Linked DNA regions of Homo sapiens: all the other regions are linked to region 1. Evidence: promoter capture Hi-C in human tissues and cell types (Jung and others, 2019). All regions are on one chromosome and are shown on one strand. Each heading gives the region's core, a stretch centred on a gene start or on the middle of the fragment in contact. The rest is flanking DNA. Distances are from core to core; before and after follow the strand shown.

Region 1 (2,508 bases), core at 6-2,505:
GGGTTTTAGGGGCCTGGGCTGGGGGGATGGGGAGGGCACATCGTGACTGTGTTTTTCATAACTTATGTTTTTATATGGTTGCATTTACGCCAATAAATCCTCAGCTGGGGTCTGGCTTTGTTTCCTGGGGGCAAAGGAGGTTTGGGGTTCCTTTCGCAGGTACTGCAGTGCCAGCCTCAGCAGTGGGGGGACCGGCCTTGGCACCTGCTGGTGGCTGCCATTCTGTGGATCTGCGTCTCCCGTCCCCCGTCTCTAGGCCTCTTGCTCCCCTTCCTTGGTTCCTTCTCGGGGTCCCTGTCCTCCACAGCTGTCTCTCAGGGTCTTTGTCCAACTCTTTTCATCCCTCTCCTGGGTCTGCGCCCCTCCCCTCTGCGGTACCCGTGTCCTGCCTAGTAGGGGATGGGGGTGGCTTTCCAGCACAGCCAGCCCTCAAGTTTCCCAGAACAGTCTCCCCACCTCCCCCCAACACTCGACATTGTTCCTCTCTGGCTGTTTTTTCCTGTTCGGGTCCCTTCAAGGCCCAACTGTGCCCAGCCCTCTGCAGCTGGGGACACTGAGTGGGTTGGGGGTGTATGTTTGCAAGGATAGAATTTCTCATGGGGGAGTGGCCCTGCTTCCTCCCCTAGAATGGCTTGGGGCTTAGGGCTGGGGACTTGCCCTCCATGGAGGTCAGTGGGAGTTGCAGCTGTAAGGTGGCAGGGCCTACCCATCTTACAGAGGTGAAGACGAGGTCCCTCTGCCTCTGCTGCAGACATGGCGTCTGCACCCACCCTTCCACCCTCAGGGCCTGGCCACGGGGTCCTGGGTCCCCCACAATACTGTGCACTCGACCTGGTTGACCCAGGACACCCTCCTCGTTGAACAGCCCTGGCTACACCTGCTTCAGTGCAACTGGAGCCCTCACCGGCGAGTGCCTGACACCTCGGCCTTTTCTCTTCCGGAGGGGCGCTCCTCAGTGTGTTTGGGGTCTCCCTCGCTCCACGCCCTCCAGGGGGCCGCATGTGCACTTGCCCTGCATTGCCTGGCCCCCGAGGTTCCAGGGTCCCAACTGTCTACTAACCGGCTTCCCGACAGGGTGAGGGTGAGGTCGCATCTACAACCAGAGCCAGCGCTTCCCCGCCGCCACCCCTTTTCTTGGAATCCCGCTGCTTAGCTACCTGCGGGTGTCATTGGCCCCGCCCCATTTCCCCACGCTTTGAAGGGGGCGAGTCTCCACAGACCTCCTAGGGGGATAGACAGCAGCTGGTGTGACCCCACACACCCAGTGAGGTCTCTGGAGCCGCGGTGCGGGAAGCGGGGACCCGGGTTTGAATCCTGCCCCTCTGGTGTGGTGCGGCCTCTTCCCACAGACTTTTGGCCTCAGTGTTCCCCGCCTGGGAAGTGGGGACTGGCCCTGGTACCTGGCTCCAGAGCTGCACCCAGAGGCGATCAGCCCGGTGCGGGAACGGGGCGGGGTGGCCGCAACTACGGGCCACGGATCCTGACCCGCCCTGCCCACGATGACTATCCACATCCTCATCCTGCTGTTGCTCCTCGCCTTCTCCGCCCAAGGGGACCTGGACACTGCAGCCAGGTGAGAAACCCGGGTGGCAGCAGGGACAGGGCGGGAGGGAGACCGTAAAGGGCGAGCGCCCTCTCCCGGCCGCGGAACGGGCAGGTGATCTGTAAGCCTCCCCGCTGGTCTTGGAGTGCTTGGGTGCCCACCTCCATCACGCTCCATCTCTCAATTCGGTTTGAACCCGGTTTTCTCCCACGCTCCCTCTCCAGGCGAGGCCAGCACCAGGTCCCCCAGCACCGCGGGCACGTCTGCTACCTGGGCGTATGCCGGACCCACCGCCTGGCGGAGATCATATACTGGATTCGCTGTCTCCACCAAGGAGCCCTCGGGGAAGGCCAGCCACGAGCCCCAGGACCCCTACAGCTATGGGCGCCGCCGGTGGCGCGAGGCGGAAGCCCGGCTCGGTTCCCAGGATTCCGGCCTGCAGCGAGGGGGCTAGCGCAGTGCCCAGCTCGCTGGGTGACCTCGGGCACGGCTCGTCCCCTCCTCGGCTTCAGTTTGCCTATCTGTATGTTGGAGCTTCTACTCCACATTTCTTCTCCCCTAACTCCAGCCCCTGAAACCGTCTTCCCCAGTCCCTCCCCGGGCTGCGACTAGGTTGGACCTAGAAGCACACGGGACCAGGCTGGGCGAAGAACACTGACGCCCAGAGCCGAATAAACAAGAGTTCCGTGTTTCAGTCTCTGCTTCTCTGTACCTATTTCGACCTCTCAGTCGAGGCTGGGTCTCTAATATACCTTTCTCTATTAGCCATGCTGCTTCTCCCTCACGGAAGTCCCACTGTCTACCTTGAATCCAACCCGCTGTGGCGCCTTTCTTGCCAACTCAATCCATGCACCTTCCGTGGGTGGTTTTGGCGGGCCGTCCTGACCCCCAAACATCCCTCCTCCCTCCCTGGCGTGAAAGGGCTGAGATTTGCTCCGGCACCCTACGCGCCTGACGTTATAATG
Region 2 (2,508 bases), core at 9-2,508, 220 kb after region 1:
CTGCTGGGACAGGATGAAGTCGAGCTCCTGGTCCAGCCTCTTCTGGTCCAGCTTCACCTTCTCCACCTCGCGGTGCAGGCTGGTGATCTTTTCTCCATTCTCGATCAGCGTGCGGTCCCAGGCGTTGACCTGGGTGGCCTGCTGGAGGAAGTGCCGCTCCTGGTCCTCTAGCTCCAGGCTCCATTTGTTGATCAGGCTCTCCAGCTGCGCGTAGGTCATGGCGGAGCTGGCAGCCGCCCCTGCAGCTGCGCCAGGGCCAGGTGGAGCGGTCACGGCAGCTGCTGTATTGCTGGGGATCCCGGCTGGCGCCAGTGGTTTTAAATTCAAGGCAAAGCCGGTGGTGCTGCTGCTGCTGGTGGTGGTGGCGGTGGCGGTGGCAGCGGTGGATGTTGTTGTGGAGGTGCCGGAAGCTGCTCCAGGTGCCTTTAAGCTGAAGCCCTGTGTCCCAGCAGTGGGGGCGCCCGCTGTGGTCACAGGGGTACAGAGGGAGAGTCCAGTGGTGGCAGATGAGGTTGGAGCAGTTGCTATTGACGCAAAGAGGCTGGGCCCAGTGCTGGTGATGGTGGCTGTGGGTGTGGGAGCAGCTGGCTGTGTGGCACCTGCTGTGGTGGCTGCTGGCGTGGCCGGAGTGAAGGGCAACGTGGCAGGTGCCGTGGGCTGGGCTGAATTCCCTGCTGAGCCAATGTTGAAACCGGAGGGTTGGGCCGTGCTTCCACCAGTGAATGAGAAGCCTCCAGATGTGGTAGCTGGAGCCACAGAGGTGGTGGAGGGGCCAAACACAAAGCCGGTGGGTGCTGTGCCCTGGCTGGAGGTGACGGTGCTCGATATGGCATTAGTGAGGTTGCTGCTGCCCAGCCCAAAGCCGCTGGGGTTTGCCATGGCTGGGGTGGCAGCTGTGTTGCTCAAGTTGAGCTTTGAAGCACCGATCCCCAAAGAAAATCCAGTTCCCCCCGAAGCAAGAGTCGCTGTTCCAAAAGTGAAGCCTGTCGTCTGTGTGGCCGGAGTCTGGGTGGCAAGTGAGAACAGGCCGGTGGAAGGGGTACTTGTGGCTGGTTGGAAGGGAGCCCCAAAATTAAACCCTCCAGTGCCAGAGGTGGAGAAAGAAAACCCTGTAGCAGGTGTGGTTGTTGCCGTCTTTGCAGTGCCAAACGTGAACCCGCCTGTAGGGGCCCCAGTGCCTCCAAAATTAAACCCGCTCATGGCTCCGGACTCTGGTGGCGGCAGCTACTCTGGCTCCCAAAGCAAATCCGTCGGTGTCTGCAGCCTTGGGAAGATTTCTAAAGCAGAGGAAGTGACATTGTCAGATGGCAGTTTTGGAAAGGCAAGCTCAGTGGCATGACTGGGCACAGTCGGTTTGGAGGGTGGTGGGATGGGATAATGATGCATGCTGTGTAACCTAAACTAGGCTCTGCTACATCGAGAAGGATCCAGAAGCACAAAAGCACGCCCCAGGGGTCAGGTACGAGGAGCCGGGGTGCTAGGGACGTGCGTGGCCATGTTCAGCCCAGTGGAAAGCTCCCACTCTGTGGAGGACGAGGCGGGAGAACAGGACCTTGGACCCACCTCAGCCTGAGGAGATCAGATTTGAGGCACTGCCACAAGCGGGACTAGGACACACAAGAACAGCTGTAGGACCTGCTCCCAGCGTGGGACCCAGTGAGGTTCCCTGGCTGACTCTAGCAGGGTGTGAGCGGATCAGCTCTTGCCACCCTGAGGGCCTCTCTGGACCTCAGAGAGAGAGATGGGGCCGGGAACCCAGGCTGGATGGCAGGGTCTGGGTTGCTGAAGGCCCCCCAGGCCCACACCTGCACTCTCTAAGAGCAGGAGAGGACACTGGAACTCCTCCTCCTAACTCAGGGGAGGGTCTGAAACCCATGTGCTCAGAGCACAGATGCCCCTGGCTGCAGTGATTGGCTCAAGGATAAACTGAGACCTGAGCCAGGCAATCGGAGCCTCCCCTGGGGTTTTCTCCAGGCTTGGAAGGCAGCTGCCTCCTTCACCTGTAGGTGTGGTGTGGAGGATTGCACCTGGGCCTCCCTTGGACACCTTCTCAACCATCTGCAGACACTGGGACATCACGGGAGACCATGAGCCCCACCAGAGATGGGTGGGGGTGGGGGTGGGGGAGGGATAAAGAGCACCCCAGAAGACCCATGGGCCACAGTATTTCCATTCAGTTCAAACTGACTTGATTTTGGTAATGTCTAACTGAAAAATCTCCCAGTGGTGCCATCTATCAGCAGGAAGGTCAAAGGTTACCTGGTGAGGAAAGGGTGAGAGGGAGTGCTGAATAGGGGTGGTTTCTTTTTCTTTTGGGAAAGGGTTTTTTTCTGTCATACTAGCTGGAATGCAGTGACATGATCACAACTCACTGCAGCCTCAACCTCCTGGACCCAAGTGATCCTCCCACCTCAGCCTCCCAGAGTAGCTAGGACTACAGGTGCATGCCACCATGCGTGGATAATCTTTTTTATTTTTTGTGGAAATGGGATCTCACTCTGTTGCCCT
Region 3 (2,508 bases), core at 4-2,503, 130 kb after region 1:
GAGAATCACTTCAAGCCAGGAGGTGGAGAGATCGCACCACTGCGCTCCAGCTTGGGTGACTGACTGACTGAGACCCTGTCTCAAAAAAAAATTGTTTTTTTTGTGGAGACAAGGTCCTGCAATGTTGCCCAGGCTGGTTTTGAACTCCTGGTCTCAAGTGATCCTCCACTTCAGTGTCCCTAAGTGCTGGGATTAGAGGCATGAGATGCTGCACCCAGAGGCCCCACTAGGCTCTTTGTAATCAAGTCTTGGAAGTTACACGTCATGTCATTATTTCTGTTACATTCTTTTTTTTTTTTTTTTTTTTTTTTTGAGACAGAGTCTCGCTCTGTTGTCCAGGCTGAAGTGCAGTGGTGCGATCTCAGCTCACTGCAAGCTCCGCCTCCCGAGTTCACGCCATTCTCCTGCCTCAGCCTCCTGAGTAGCTGGGACTACAGGTGCCCGCCACCACACCCAGCTAATTTTTTGTATTTTTAGTAGAGACAGGGTTTCACTGTGTTAGCCGGGATGGTCTCGGTCTCCTGACCTTGTGATCCACCCGCCTCGGCCTCCCAAAGTGCTGGGATTACAGGCGTGAGCCACCGCGCCTGGCCTACATTCTGTTTTTTAACCTGAGACAGGGTCTTGCTCTGTTGCCCAGATTGGAGTGCAGTGGTGGGATCATAGCTTGCTGCAGCCTCGACCTCTCGGGCTCAAGTGATCCTCCCACCTCAGCCTCCTGAGTACCTAGGACTGCAGGTGGGCACCACCATGCATGGCTGATTTCTTTATTTTAATTCTTGTAGAGATGAGGTCTTGCTGTGTTGCTCAGACTGGTCTTGAACTCCTGGCCTCAAGCGATCCTCCTGCCTTGACCTCCCTAAGTGCTGGAGTGCTGAGATCACAGGCCTGAGCTGCGGTGCCAAGTCCACTTCTGCCATACTGCATTTGGTGTGCAGTATAAGCCTATCCCGTTCAGTGTAGGAGGAGACTACCCAGTGTGTAAATAGCAAGAGGCTGGATTGCTGGGTGCTGTATTGGGGGCTGGGTACCGCAACCTCACAGCGATGTTTGGAGAATTAAGTTAGTTGATGATGTTTAATACAGTGCCTGGCATGTATTAAGTGCCGTGTAAGTGTTTCCTAGGATTTTGTGCCTCACTCTCCTGGTTTGCAAATGGATAATGGTCGCGTGTATCTCCGTGTTGTTAGAAGATCACAGGAGCTAAGTTGCTTGCTGTGTGTCGCTTAGGGCCTGGTCTGCAGTCAAGGTTCATTAAACAACACCTGTTCGTAGCGGCCGTTACCTCTGTATGCTTCTGCAGCAGGTGTTTGTTGAGTATCTGCTTTGTTCCAGTATGTGCGTGCAAGTGCTGGGTGCAGGACATATAGTGAAAAGGTGACACAGAAGCTTCCCCTTCGCGGTAGCTGGAATTCGTAGGTAACACAGAGCAGGGTTTCTCATCCTTGGCCCTAGTGACACTGTGGACACAGTCATTCCTTGTAGTGGGGGCCGTCCTGGGTATTGTAGGATGTTTAACATCATCCTTGGCCTCTACTCACTAGATGCCGGTAGCCCCCTCCCAAAGGTGTGACAACCAAAAATGTCTCCAGGCATTATAAAATATCCTCTGGGAAGGGGGCGCAAAATGTATTCCATTTGAGACCACTGGGAGAGACCGGTAAGACAGTCTTGAGTGATGTTAAATGGAGACTTCTTGAGGCCCAGGTCCAAGTCTGATGCTCCTCAAGTGCCTGGCAGCCAGCACAGGGCCTGGTACACAGGAGGCCTCGGGTAAATTCTGTAGAATGAATGTCCAGAATGCATTTAATACTAACCACCCTGGAAGACACTGCATAGCCTTCCAGACCCAGCTCAGGTGTCTTATACCCTGGGAAACCTTCCCGATTCTTGCAGCCAGATGCTTCCTCCTCTGCCTCCATGACCTGTCACAGCCCCACACCTCTGGACTGTGAATGTCCAGGTCCCTGGGTGCTTCTGCCATTTGCTTCCAGCTGGGGCTTGGCACCCACGGGGCTTCAGGAGACTGGCTGAATAAATGAATTAGTATGTAATACAAAAACAACAAATAAATAGAAAAAATTAACCAGGCATGGTGGTGCACACCTGTAGTCCCAGCTACTCAGGAGGCTGAGGTAGGAGGATCAACTGAGACTGGGAGGCAGAGGTTGCAGTGAGCCGAGATTGTGCCACCGCACTCCAGCCTGGGTGAAAGAGCGAGACCCTGTCTCGGGAAAAAAAAAAAAAAAAAAGAGGTGGAAGGAAAATAGACCCAGTGTGTTTCCCATAACATTATGACAACTCAGTTGTTCATTCATATGTTCACTCATTAATTCAACAAATGTTTGTGGAACAAATCGTCCTGGGCACCAAGGAGTTAGTGGGCATGAGATAGGCAAGGTCCTGGCCCTCATGGAACTAGTTTGCCTGGGTGACAGGCCGTGTGTAGGGAGCCCTTGGTCATGGCCGGATGCTGTTAACATTCACTCATTTTGACCTCCTGGGGCT

The links. The method cuts DNA at HindIII sites, captures the fragments that hold promoters and counts their contacts. A contact is called where the count stands out against the background at its distance.
Region 2: a fragment that was not itself captured here is called in contact with the fragment with the promoter of ADM5 in region 1 in 1 of the 25 tissues and cell types used here (pancreas).
Region 3: a fragment that was not itself captured here is called in contact with the fragment with the promoter of ADM5 in region 1 in 2 of the 25 tissues and cell types used here (heart left ventricle and pancreas).

What each region holds. Positions count from the first base shown.
Region 1 is chr19:49,688,339-49,690,846 of GRCh38, forward strand. ADM5 (adrenomedullin 5 (putative)) reads left to right here and starts at 1,256. Exons shown (of 2, transcript NM_001101340.2): 1 at 1,256-1,573; 2 at 1,768-2,237. The coding sequence starts at 1,500. The coding sequence ends at 2,155. It overlaps PRMT1 (protein arginine methyltransferase 1), which reads left to right. Exons shown (of 11, transcript NM_001536.6): 11 at 1-109. It also overlaps a transcript of CPT1C not described here. RefSeq lists an enhancer at 1-337 and a silencer at 1,646-1,715. The HindIII fragment of the contact is 11,781 bases long and covers 1-2,508 here.
Region 2 is chr19:49,908,608-49,911,115 of GRCh38, forward strand. It overlaps NUP62 (nucleoporin 62), which reads right to left. Exons shown (of 3, transcript NM_016553.5): 3 at 1-1,277. The coding sequence starts at 1,200. It also overlaps a transcript of IL4I1 not described here. Among named protein-coding and RNA genes, the nearest start is that of IL4I1, 13 kb to the left of the region's middle. RefSeq lists an enhancer at 1-30 and a silencer at 1,768-1,847. The HindIII fragment of the contact is 3,328 bases long and covers 1-2,508 here.
Region 3 is chr19:49,822,354-49,824,861 of GRCh38, forward strand. All of the region lies in intron 3 of MED25 (mediator complex subunit 25), which reads left to right. Among named protein-coding and RNA genes, the nearest start is that of MED25, 5.3 kb to the left of the region's middle. The HindIII fragment of the contact is 3,177 bases long and covers 1-2,508 here.